Linked DNA regions of Homo sapiens: all the other regions are linked to region 2. The links are contacts of gene promoters, found by promoter capture Hi-C in blood cells and fetal thymus (Javierre and others, 2016). All regions are on one chromosome and are shown on one strand. The core of a region is centred on a gene start or on the middle of the fragment in contact, and the rest is flanking DNA. Distances in the headings are between cores, read along the strand shown.

What was found. The method cuts DNA at HindIII sites, captures the fragments that hold promoters and counts their contacts. A CHiCAGO score of 5 or more calls a contact.
Region 1: a contact is called between a fragment that was not itself captured here and the fragment with the promoter of SPRY4 in region 2, in 1 of 17 cell types (naive B cells). The highest score is 5.1, in naive B cells.
Region 3: a fragment that was not itself captured here is called in contact with the fragment with the promoter of SPRY4 in region 2 in 2 of 17 cell types (endothelial precursors and activated CD4 T cells); the score reaches 6.8 in endothelial precursors.

The regions. Positions count from the first base shown.
Region 1 is chr5:142,610,856-142,615,104 of GRCh38, forward strand. It overlaps FGF1 (fibroblast growth factor 1), which reads right to left. Exons shown (of 4, transcript NM_000800.5): 2 at 3,104-3,306. The coding sequence starts at 3,272. Among named protein-coding and RNA genes, the nearest start is that of FGF1, 73 kb to the right of the region's middle. The HindIII fragment of the contact is 2,233 bases long and covers 1,636-3,868 here.
Region 2 is chr5:142,323,199-142,327,694 of GRCh38, forward strand. It overlaps SPRY4 (sprouty RTK signaling antagonist 4), which reads right to left and starts at 1,823. Exons shown (of 2, transcript NM_001127496.3): 1 at 1,646-1,823. It overlaps SPRY4-AS1 (SPRY4 antisense RNA 1), which reads left to right and starts at 2,095. Exons shown (of 4, transcript NR_120664.1): 1 at 2,095-2,172. RefSeq lists enhancers at 1-785, 786-1,748, 1,230-1,289. The HindIII fragment of the contact is 6,861 bases long and covers 1-4,496 here.
Region 3 is chr5:142,595,511-142,599,734 of GRCh38, forward strand. The region is part of intron 3 of FGF1 (fibroblast growth factor 1); the gene reads right to left. Among named protein-coding and RNA genes, the nearest start is that of FGF1, 88 kb to the right of the region's middle. The HindIII fragment of the contact is 5,090 bases long and covers 1-4,224 here.

The DNA of each region.
Region 1 (4,249 bases), core at 1,502-4,001, 290 kb after region 2:
GTTAGGTACTTGGAAACTCATTCTCCTAGAGGTAGGAAGAAGATACATTTGCCCAGGAATGATCAATGACTTGGGGACAAAGAGAAGCCGTGAAAGGAGTTATTTCTGCCTTGTAGAGCTCAAAGGCATACGGTTCTATCTTGTGTGATTTGTTTAAATTTTTCGATTGGCTTTTAGAAACGCTCTTTCTGAAGGAAGTCTTAACGTGTGACTCTGTCACTTCAGTCTCTAATTATGCTCAAACTAGTGATCAAGGAATCAAAAATATCTCCTTGCCAGGCCGTGTGGATCACATTTAGTCAGGGAGCATCCGTCTCATGCCTGGCCGAGGCAATTCTGTTTCTGAATAACCCTTGAAACTCAGAAGGGCTCTGGCAGTACCACCACTGGGCAGAAGAGGGCAACAGAACCACATTCAGGGAGTACATCCGTGCCCAGGACTCCTCTCACCTGCAGAACCCTAGTAAATAGAAGTTTCGCCCTTGTGAGGCACACTGGGCAATGCTGCCATTCCCATTCCACAGGTGAGGAAACTGAGTCTCAGCGAGACTAAATGATTTTCCTGAAAATTATCTGGGAACACTAGAGACACTTCAATTTCTAGTCAGGAAAGGACTGGAAGCGTCCCAGGGCTGGGGGGCTTGAAGCTTCTTTCGCAGAGTTTGCAAACAGAAAGAATGCATAATGGCAAGAACGTTAATTGTCCAGGGCTGCTCCAGGTAGAAAGGGGCAGAGTAGGCTTGAACTCGAGCCTGCTGACTCTTCAGTGGAATATCCAGTTCCAGTACTGACAGGTACACGGATGGGCTTCTGGCCACCCACCCCACTTACTCTGATCTCTGTCCTCTTGGTCCTTGTTCTTAGTTCCAGAGTAAGCAAATAATAGGCCCACACAACAACTCCGAGTGTTGGCAGAGAGATGCTGAATCTAAGCCTGCATCTAGCCCCTTGACTTTCCTGGGTGGCAGTACTGTTAAAAAGAGGAGTCTGGAAGGTCCTTCAATACGACCCTGTGTTACCATATGCTAGGCTGATTATATGGAAAGCTTGATGATGATAACTGCAATATGAACCAACACGTGCTGTGCTGTTCCTCTGTGCCAGCCACTGTGCCAAGAACTCTCACTATATTATCTCATTTAACCCTCCCAAGAAACCTGTGAGGCAAGGAATATTAGTATTCTTTTTGTACAAATGAGAAAAGTGAGGGTGAAAGGTGCAGTTGCCCAAGTTCACTTGGAAAATAATCTGGCATTCCTTGAATGCAGAAATCCTCACCTGCACTCCCAGGGCTACGTTGTGCTGCTTTCTAGGGGCTCCTGACATCTTAAGTCAGGCGGCCAAATCCACTGTGGACTCCAGAAGTTGTGCCAGTGTTACACACCCAGAGTGCAGTCTGTTGTGCTAATGATGGAATGGCAACAGTTAAGCCATTTTCCATTGCTACAGAAATTCCAGTATTGGAGCCTTTTTTTACTCCAGAAGTCAAGGTTTCCAGAAGAGCTAGCTTAACCCCAAGGAACATATCATGAAGTTTGTCTTTCCTCTTGGGTTCTGAGGACCGGAGAGCATTCCCTACTTTTTCAGAAAATTGGTTAAGACGTATTAGGAACACTTAAAACCCAGAGGAATTAAAGCTTGTTCGTGTTGTGTGGGGCAGATCACGTGAGTTGTGTATCATGCCTGACACAATGGACTACAATCTAAGTTTGCTAATTTGCAGTGAATATTGCTTATGTATGCTATTTAACAAACTAGAGTCTTTTTTTTTTGCCTCATTCTGACACCTGTTTTTCACTGAGTATAAGACATTCAGCAAGCCCATTTGAAGATAAGCCATCAAAACAAAGCCCAAAAGAGCTAATTCTGCAGCTGCAAGCCCCAGCCTCAGCCTTCCTGCTCCTCATCTCCAGGGTCTGTGCAGTGGGTGGGGAGGAAGGAACAACGTCACCTCGTGTAAACGCCAGCATCCATCCCCATTACCTGTGCATCTGAGGGTACAGCGTGAGCACCAGCGAAGTGGTCATTTGTTCTTAGAGCCTGCAACCTCTGGTGCATGGTCCATGAATAATTAAGACCACCTGATGTATAAACCATCATGTCAAAGTGAGTGTTTTGCATTGCATTTTGAAGCCAGTCCTACAGAAACTTCCTTCCTGCCTGTCTTCTTCTATGTCTCCTGATTTTCCTTCTCTTGATTTGTGGCAAGTTTGACTCTTGAGATTGCTGACCCTCTAAGCAGGGACTGGATCTGACTTTAGGCTTCTTTGTAACCTCTGATGCTGCAGTGGGACTCAGGGAATCTCAGATAACATCACGATAGGACCTGGACACCTAATATCAAACATACACACCAATGCCAGAAGTACCAAAGCAGAAGGAAGAGATTTTTTTATACTTAGATAGTCAAGAAGATTCTTTTCTCTAGAGTCATACCTTCATTTGTCAACACCTCTGAGAACCGGGCTGCCAGGAAGTCCTGGAAGAGATATTCAGCATTTGGCGCTAGTCGCTCCTACTCTCCAGTTTCTATAAGGTCTGGAGAATGACTTTACCACTGCTGGTTACCACAGCCACATCTGCGTGATACGCAGAGGGAAAGCTGCATAATTTATGATGTGTAAGACTACGATTATGAACTGGGATTTCACAAATCAAGCCCAGTGGAAACATAACCAGGAGAGTCAGTTGACTTGAAACGGAGCCCACATCTCTGTGCAGGATTTACCACCATGCCTGTCTGGTTCATCCCATCATGAAGCGTGCAGGCCCCTGACTAGCCTTCGGGGCCAGATCTTTCACTAGTTACAGAAACCTGGGAAAACATACAGCAATTGAGCACCGGCAGCCCGTTCTGTTGGGTCAGCAGAGAGTGCTTTAAAAAACTTGAAATAGGACACGTTTGGGTAAGTGGTGGCCCCCACAAGTCCCTATTTTCTAAACCCAGACATTTTACGCATTTATGTGACTCCACCTCTGAATGTGTCATGCCTGAATAGAACCTTGGAGAAGCAAGTACCTGTACTTAAATGTGCACCTTCCTCCCACCTTGACTACAGAAGATGTCAGAAAGGGAAGGGGGGTGCCATAGAGATGGGCTTACTGTGCTGGTCGCTCCTGTCCCTTGTCCCATCCACTGTGCCATCCGGAAGGATCCTCAGGAAGTGGCCCCCGTTGCTACAGTAGAGGAGTTTGGGCTTCTTGTAATTCCCTGGAGGCAGATTAAACTTCTCGGTCAGGGCTGTGAAGGTGGTGATTTCCCCTTCAGCCATGGCTCAGCAGCTGCTGCTTGTGGCGCTTTCAAGACTGTAAGAAATTGAACAAACCTGTAGTCGGTTCTTCCAGCAAAGGCACAAAATGCACTTTGAAGAGAGGAAGGACAGCTCCAGGGCACAGGGTTCCCGGGTAGTGAGTAAGCACAGCCTGCCCAGGTGATGCCCGCAGTCCGCGGGCCTGTGAGGTGGCTGGTGGTTAAGGAAGGATGGTCCCAGGCCTGGGAGGGGTTTCCAGGGCATTTTTCTCTCTTCCCAATTGGACACAGCTTTGGACCAAACTGCATTTTTTAGAACTTCAAATTTAATCATCTGACCATGGGGAAAAGAATCATGTTTTGGTCCCTCCTTCTGGTCCACACACATCCTCAAATTAAACACCAAAGTTGCACTAAAATAACACCTAGGGTCTGGCTGAAACCCACAAAAGCTGAGAGGCCAGGACCAAGGTTCTGCCCTCCACCCTCACGTTGCGTTGGTGAGGTACCGCGAAGCAGATAGCACAGATGGCCTGGACGTTCGGGACCTGCAGCCAAAGGCACAGGAGGCCTTTCAGGGACACAACAGGGAAAGTAAAGGGTTAGTATGTTAAGGGAAGCTTCTGGATTTGCTGGGGGAAACAGAACTGGAACCAGGGAAAAAGGCACAGAGTGGGAGTAAGTGGGGTTTTTAAAGGGCAAATACCATATCAAAGGAAATGTTATGAGACAGATCATTATGAAGGCTATGCCTGGTTCCTGCCCATTCTGCAGCTTTCCACATAGCTTCATGTGGCACAGAGAAGGTGGGTCTGTCCCTTGCACGCAGGCTGTTTTCATCCTAGCTATTTTCTAATGTGAGATAGAACACAGAAACCACCATATTATATATAATATACCTTTAACATTATATGTAGCCACTACATACAAACTTATATTATTAATGTGAAAATGCATCACTTACACCTCAAAGGATTAAAAAACAAAACCAATGAGCAT
Region 2 (4,496 bases), core at 573-3,072:
CCAACTTCTCTGAGCCTTATACCTTCCAGCTTTGAATCCCGAGAGACTTGTCAGGGAGGTTAGTGCCTCGGTCAGCTACAGACACAGACGAGTGCTTGCTCCCGCCCCTCTGCAAGTTCTTTGGCCTCCAGTGTGTCTGGCCTCTCCCAAAACTGGAGAGAATCACGCCACTGATTTGGAGGCAGGAAAGAAGGGGATGCCACTAGGTTTGGGCACCCCACTGTACACTCTTCTTTCCAGCACTAACCGCGCTGGGGGGTACGGAAGCCTTGCTGCGCCAGAAGGCGGCCTCCTGCCCTCACAGAGGCCTTGGCAATATGGATGCCCCTCCAGCAGCTGGTGAAAGAGGCAGCCAGCAGCTCCCTACTCTGCCTACCATCTAGCCCCTCCAGCCCATTTCGCCTCTCTTGCCCATCCTTCAGCCCTATAAGCCACGCAACCATTTTCTGTCTCCCCTGCCTCTCCTGCCCACAACCCCCTGCCCCCAATCAAGGAGAATTGAGAAACCGTCTTCTTGCACAAGAGCAGCTACTGTCTAAATGCTTTTTGATCGTCTGCATGGAGGGGGAACTGGGCACAGCCCTGGACCCAGTGATGGAGCCAAGCTCTAGCTGCCCTGGCTAGCCAAACCCGCCCTCACCCAGCTCACTGTCCCCGGGGTCTTGGCGATTCAGAATTTGTCAGAACATACCGTCTCTATCCTCTTCTCTGTGATGTCAAGCCTGGTACCACCAAGAAGGAAGGAGGGAAAGCAGGAGCCTTATCTCTCCTACATTCGCAACCTCTTCCTCCAGCTCCCACACGCCTGGTGTTATGTAAACGCACCTTCAACCCCCACCGCAGCCCTAGCGCGGCCTGGGGGCTCCGGGGCCTGGCACAGCTCGGTGCCCGAGGATAGGGAGGTACAGGGTGGCCGAGGAGCCTCAGGCCTTACAGAGGCCAGGCAAGAAAAAGTCAACTGCAAGGCAGTTGCATAGCATAAAATGCGGCAGCGGAGCAAAGGTCAGACGGCGAGGAACCGCCTCGCCAAGGAGAGGGAGTAGGAATGCCCAGTCCTGAGCCAGCCCCTCGCTGACCATCGAGGGAGAGGCAGAAGGGGAGGGAATTCAGTCCGTCACGGCTCCGAAGAGAAAGAAAAAATCTACGTCGAGCATAGGCCGCTACGGCGGGCTGGGAGATACACGGCAAAGCTGGCACCGTGGGCACCGAGCTGGGAGGTGGGCGAGCCGCCCAGAGCGAGGGCGCCCCCCGACCCAAACGGTGGCTCCTGACCAAGCCCAGAGACGCCCGTTCCAGCGTTCGAGGCGGATGGTGGCAGGAGAAGGAAAGAGGCCAGGCCAGAGGCAAACTCCCGGGACACGCACGGGGCTTCCCGAGTCTCAGAGGGCGGGGAAGCCGGGCTTGGCAATGCCCAGGGGTCGGAAACGGCGGTGCCAGGCTGTGAACACCCCCGGCGCCGTGCCGGCCGGGCCGAGGGCGTCAGGGAGCTGCGGCGCACCGCAGCGACTCAAGGAGGCGCAGGCTGAGGGAAGGAACACTGAGGCGCGCCTAGAAATAGCGCACCATTTGCCCCAGCCCAAGGGGGGAGTCGCGTCGCGGCTCAGAGAGGGGCAGTTTCAGATCTCCAAACCAGCCATGGACTTACTTTGAGGAGCTGCAGGGTCACAAGCATCGCCCCACGTCTGTGTAAATCCTGAAGCCGGGGCAGGTTAGCCGCCGCTGTACTCGCAGACGCCGGTCGGAGGAACCGGCAAGGCTCCCTGCGCTCCACAGCGCCAGCTCCGCGCTGTCAGCTCAGCTCGCTACCTCCGCGGCGATGTTGCAACCACTGCCTGGGAAAATGGCTTTTTTATGAATGGGAGGGAAGGGAGCGCCAGTGCGCACGCGTGCCGTTCGCGATTCTATGAATGGGTGGGCACAACAGACCCTGAGCGCGCATGCGCTCCGCTCCTTTTTTTATGAATGGGGGGCGGGAAAAGATCTTAACCCGTGATTGCTGGGACTGGCTCAAGCTCCACCAGGAGCCGTCGTTCTTTTACAAAGAGGGGTGGAGGTTCCAGTGGAGGCTGTTGTTGCCTTTTTTTTTTTTTTTTTAATGAATGGAGGGCGGCGGCGACTGCTGCAGCTGGGCCAGCTGCGCGGGCTGCACCCCCTCCCAGCCTGCGAGAGGAGGTAAAGGCCACCTTCACGCCACTGCGGGCCTGGGCAGGAACCGTCAGTGTCGCTGGGGGGTGGGGGACGCTGCGGCCTCCGGATCCCGGGTTGAGAGCAGGGTGGTGGAGGGCACACCTAGATCTGGGGATCTCTGCCCCCCGCAGGCAGTCAAAAGGGGGGGCGGGAGGACCCCTACTGGGGGCCTTCTCTTGCTCTAGACCAGAGACGCCAGGCGGGAGGGGTCTTGAAGCTGCGTTTACCAAAAATTAGGAAAATGTCCATCATTCATATCAAAGGGTGGGGTGAGGATTGGTGAGTGAATCTGGTTCTTTTTCCTGAGGCTGAATCTCTCGTGAGTGCTGGCCGCCCCTCCCCCCATTTCTTGGGTGTAGACAGTGACTGGGCCCAGGCCTCTTCCGGCTCCAGTACCCCCCGGGGCGATTCTGGCAACTCAGCCAGAGGAAGCCTGGCCCTCGCCTCCCAGCGTTCCCCCCGCCCCCCGCCCCAGTGCAATGTCCGCAGTGCCCGGGCGTCTGCCCGCTCTCTGTCGCCCTAGCTAGGTGTCCTTTCTCTGTCCCAGTCGGTTTCCCAGCCCTCACAGGACGCTGGCCTGAGGAGCCTCGGTCCACCGAAGGCCCACGGCCCTTCGCTGTTGTAGGCGCCTTTCCCCAATATCCCCCACCTCTCACCGGCCTCCCCTCCGGGGAAGTGGGAGCGGCCGAGAACTGGCCAGGTGGATGGGTGGAGCCGGCTGCGCCGAGGATGCTGCCGGGGTGGCCTCAGGATTAAATAACAACGGGGCTCTTGAGCCGCAGAGGAAATGGAAATGGCTGGGGATCCTTTCTTCGCTGTTAATGATGGTGGCGTTGGGGGGCGGGGGTGAGGATCAGCTCAAGCCGGTGAAAAGAAAAGCCCCCGCCATTAGGCCTGACTCCAGGAAGGCGGGGAGCCCTCGCAGCAGGCCCTGCTCCTCCCTGGAACGGAGGAGCCTGTAGCCTCCGGGAAGTCCGGGGCGGGGGGTGGCTTTGATGCGTGGATAAGAGCAGAGTCTGGGCCAGGGCTTGGCCCTGAGTCCCTTGTAAGGTCTGTCTTGCCGCTGTTCTGGCCGCACGGGGAGATTGTGTGGCAGTCTTTTTCTTCCTACGCCACTATAGGATTGTGCTTGGCTGTTGTCAGAGGAACCAATGAAAGGCTCCCAGCCCAGGGCTGAGGTCTGGCCTAGGGCTGGGGCTGGGACTCTAGAGGCAGGCAGCCCAAGGTCACCGAGTCCTAGCCTAAAATGCCTTCTCACCATTCGGCTCACCCCTCCGTGTACTTACCCAGCTCCTGAGGGCAGAGCAGACTCTCCCCTAGGGAACCTCAGCCTTCCTTTCAGGGGCGAGACCTTTCTCTAAGACCAAGAGAACTCTTCGCCAGAAAAATGGGTACAGTTGTCCAGGACTTCCTTTTAAGGCTGTTGAAGTTCAGTATCGCCCTCTCTGTCAGCTGTAGAAACTGAGGCCAAGGGTCCTGCACCGGGTATATGGAAGAGCTGGTAAATTGTAGCACTTATTTTCTAGGTCTTTGCAACCTGGCTTTACTTTGCTACCAACCCTTCTCAGCATCACAGACCTAAAAACCTGTTTCTCGCATGTCATTTAAGCATTTTAAACAATGAAAGTTGAAGCAGTAATTTTCCAGCTGGTGCTCACCCATGGCCCTTGCTGAAACAGTCAGAAGGATGGGAATAAATAAATCTTAAATCTATGGCAGAAAAGGAGGATTGGAGGAGCCGCGGGGAGGGGGGTTGCTATCCTGTTTTCTTTATTAGAGAAACTCAGGAGACAGACAGGATTACATTTCATAGTCTTTCTCAGCTTCCCTGAAAGAGAATGCGAGGAGACCCCAGCCTGTGGTGGGGAGAAGGAGGAGCTCCCAGTCTTGAGCTGGGAGGGGCCTCTGATGCTTAAGTACAGCGAGATTCAGAGCGTCTAGAAGGGCTCTGGAGGTCATATTCTGGTTGTGCTTGGAACCTAAGCTGAGGAATGGTTTGGAGCAGCAGTTATGAAAAATTCATTCATTCATTCATTCATTCATTCACTCATTCACTCATTCATTGATCGATTCTGTAGTGGGGCCTGCCCTGACTCTGGAGACTCAGTGGTGAGGGACAGACAGCCCTCCCTGCCCTTGTGAAGCTCACAGTCTTTTGAAAAGACAGACAGACAGGCTGCAACATGAGGTTCTAAGTGCTAGGAGGGAAATGAGCTTTCTCTGGGGTATGTTGCTTGCCGGGGAGGTGGGGGATGGTGGAAGGAGCTGATTCTGATTTGGTCATCAGGGAATGTCTCTGAGAGGGCGGC
Region 3 (4,224 bases), core at 624-3,123, 270 kb after region 2:
AGGACAATCAGTGAGTAGTTTCACATGGGGGTCCCCATTTACTAGCTGTGTGACATTGGGCAAAATACTAAAGCTCTCCATGCCTCAGTCTCCTTTTCAGGAAAATTGGGGTCATGGTGGAACTTATTTCACAGGGTAGTCATAAGGACTTAGAACAGCACCGGGCACTAAAGAGCTGTCAATATGCATTTGCTATTATTGTAAACTTCCTTTCCATTTAAAATCCATTGTAAAGTAATTAAGATGCTACTGATAAGAGCACTTCTAAGAGTCCTCAGGACTCTAGAATCTCCCACTGGGGACATTCTGCTCGACTGTAAGTACCTTGAGGGCAGGGCTGGATCTTTCATCTCTGTAGTGGCCTGGCACACAGGCCTGACCATGGAAAAACATTCCAAATAGGTAAAAACCAGACTGTGATGTAGTGGGTTGTTGTTGTTGCTGTTGTTTTAACTTGAAGGCTAGACTTAAAGAATAAACAAAAAGCTGCTAAAATGCCTTTTATCCTGGTGATTTTCACTAACGTCAGGATTTTACCTGAGTATTGTTATGAAGATATGCTTGTGCAAAATTTATCCTAAGCATGAAACATATCCTAGAATGTAGATTTTTTAAAATGAAAATAGCTTTATTTTTTGCTACTTATAAAAAGAATCTTATAAATAGATGCTACTTGTGGTCAGGCACAGTGGCTCATGCCTGTAATCACAACACTTTGGGAGGCTGAGGCAGGAGGATTGCTTGAGCCCAGGAGTTTGAGGCCAGTCTGGGCAACATAGCAAGACCCATTCTCTACAATTTTTTTTTTAATTAGCTAGGTGCCATGGTGTGTGCCTGTAATCACAACACTTTGGGAGGCTGAGGCAGGAGGATTGCTTGAGCCCAGGAATTTGAGGCCAGTCTGGGCAACATAGCAAGACCCATTCTCTACAATTTTTTTTTTTTTAATTAGCTAGGTGCCATGGTGTGTGCCTGTAATTACAACACTTTGGGAGGCTGAGGCAGGAGGATTGCTTGAGCCCAGGAATTTGAGGCCAGTCTGGGCAACATAGCAAGACCCATTCTCTACAATTTTTTTTTTTTAATTAGCTAGGTGCCATGGTGTGTGCCTGTCCTCCTAGCTACTTAGGAGGCTGAGGTAGGAGGATTGCTCGACCCCAGGAGTTTGAGGCTGTAGTGAGCTATGATTGTACCACTGCACTCTAGTCTGGGTGACAGAGCAAGAACCTGTCTCTAAAGAGTAATAAAAATGCTACTTATAAGAAGAATTGTACTTTTAAAAATATACCTTTACTTTGTAAAAAGAAAAAACTATCCCAAAACCCACCACCCAGATATAGGCAACTGTTAATCACTGATAAACATCCTGCCTTACATCTCTTTATGTACATACAGACTAGATAAGGCTATATGGATATAGACTTATGATATCATCAAAATGTCATGTTTTATTTGATGTTTTAAAAATGAACAACAAACCTATGAAAACATTCAATACTGCTAACGAGAAAAATGCAAATTAAAAATTATTTATCATATGTTAGCTATCCTATGTGCAAAGATAAAAAAAAATTTGTGCAAAGATAAAAAACCATTTGCAAGACTTAGAATGTGGGAACTAGGCACTGCCATGCACAGTTGGCGAGAAAAATTAGTGGAAACTTTCTGAAGACAATTTAGCAATATGTATCAAAATTTACAAGATGTATTACCTTTGACTCAGCAATTTCACTTCTAGGAATCTACCCCTAGGAGATGGTTGAGTAAGTGTACAACTGTATTTTTGAGGATGGTCTCTGAACCAATGGTTATAGGGGCAAGCGATTAGGAGTAACCTATATGTCCATGGAAAGGTGATTGGTTAAGTGGGTAAAAGAATATCCGTACAGTAGAACCCAGTGCAGCTGTACATTTATTAAGTTGAAAATCAGCCACAACGTATTAAAGAGTGCAGTTACTTGAAAAAAATCCAGCAACCACTATTTTGCTTACTTGTAGTCAATCTGTTGGTGGAAGGGGAACTCAGTTTTTGAACTTTCTATTCGTCAAGATCTTAGAATATATTTATTACATTTGGGTCTAAAACAGGTATATTAAAACACTTATGCTGGAACTGAGACATCTGACTTTGCTTTGCCTTTTTCAAGTCGTGTGACCCCTGCAGTCTCTCTTCACCCACAGTGGTTGGTGATTCCCTGTCTGGCGGTTTCCAATTATATTGTTCATTGTTCTCTATGTGTGAGCATGTTTGTTTCTTTAGATTATAAACCCTAGTGAGGAAGGAGATGGAATCTTGTTGGTCTTCTCTCCATCCCCCAGACACAGAGCCTTGCAAATAATAGGTGCTCACCAGCTAAGTAATGCATTTAATTTGATTCTTGAGATAATATAAAGCAGTCAGTAAAGTCAGCCTTTCTTAGTAAGGAACTGTGTAACAGGAAGTATCCTGCTTCTTATTCATTCATAATCTAGTGAAATGACAACAGGGTGAGACACTTTAGATCATATTGGAACAAGATGAGATATAAATATAATATTTTATTGGATGACTCTGCTGCCTCTAGAGGAACTTGGTGCAGACATTCGTGTTTGATGCATGTTGTTGGGGGTAGAAGGAGGTAGACAGCTTGGACCTATGTGGGTTGCCCACTCCCTTGTAGGGAGGACTCATGCCTGACACCTCATAGTGGGCATCAGGCCTGTGTTCTGTGACGAAGGTGAGGATGGCCACATTCCCCACCTGATGTCTCTATTATACTGGAGGAGTTGACACACACAAAATAGCTGAGTCACAGGCTGAGTCAGCAGGCCAGATCAGCGGTGCTCCGTCCCTCCACCAGGATTTGTTAGCACTCATTATGCACTTGGTACAATGCTGAAGACATGTGGCTTAACTATTGATTCATGTCTATTGTTTAAATTGTCTTCTTTTTTATATTTGGCATGTTTCCCCTCCCACCCTAAATTACATAGGTGACATATACTTACTGTAAAAAAAAAATTGGAAAATACAGGAAGTTATTCACATATTATAAAATCACCCATTCTCCACCCCCAGAGATAACTATATCAGTATTTTGATATATAGCCTTTCAAACTTAAAAAAAATATACATATCCTTTCCACACACACAAGTTTGAATCAGGATGGATTAGTGCCTAAATTTTATGAAGAGCATGAAGCAGAGCTTTGAGATATCTTAGAACTTCTCTTTATCAATGGGGAAAATGCAAACATTCTTAGGCGTAATATACTAAGATCATATTTCAGGTGAATTGTAGTGATGGCCACGGCTATGGTGGGAGAAGGGGGTGCCTGGAGCCTATCGGAAATTAGATTCTGGGAGTTCTCCCTCAATATTTTTATATAAGTGAAAGCAGGTTACAATAAACGTCAAAATTTATTTAAAGAGGGAAAAGCCATAAAACTGTGGCATAACCTAAGACACAGTGAGGGTGAGGGGCTTCTAAGCTGATGACTTGTCTTACAGCCACCACTGGTCTGTGACGTGCCAGCCACTCTGATGGGCGCATTCTGTGTGTTGCACCACTGAACCCATGTACGCTCTGTGTGAGGCGGTTATGATCCATGACTGTCCTCATTTTAGACAAAGCTCAGAGTGGGTAAGTGACTTGCCAGAGTGGCAGAGGCGTGAGATTCAATCATGAGTCTGAGACTAAGCGATTGACTGATGGATTGATTTTACTACCACTTGGAAGAACTACCTTAAAAAAATCCCCTACTGCCAAACCCCTTAAAGCCGTCCCAGGTGATCTGTACTGAGCACATAGCATTTTAGAGGTTACCTATTACGCTGATGATTTAATCTCCTGATCCCTAGTGGGCAGTGAGAGGAAACGAAGCTGTGTTCACATTGGGACCCTTGGCTGAGATGACAACTTCAAGAGAGGGTTTCTGTGCCCTCTGTCACTTGGCAATTCGATGTAAGTTGAAGCTCCAGACTAAAATTCCCCCTACTGACTGTCTTTTTGAAGACATCTTCATAAAAGGGAGGAAAGGGGTGTGGATTGGGCTAGGAATTACAGCCAAGCCTTAGTTTATCAACTGTTAGGATACAGAGGAGGGAACATTAAAATCTAGAAATAACTTCAAAACCCGCAGTCATTGGTTTAAGCTGTCTCTCCAGTTAACTCCTGTCACAGAGATACCAATAGGGGCAAAATCACATTGCCTCTATTTCTATTCCTTTCCCATAAAGACCTA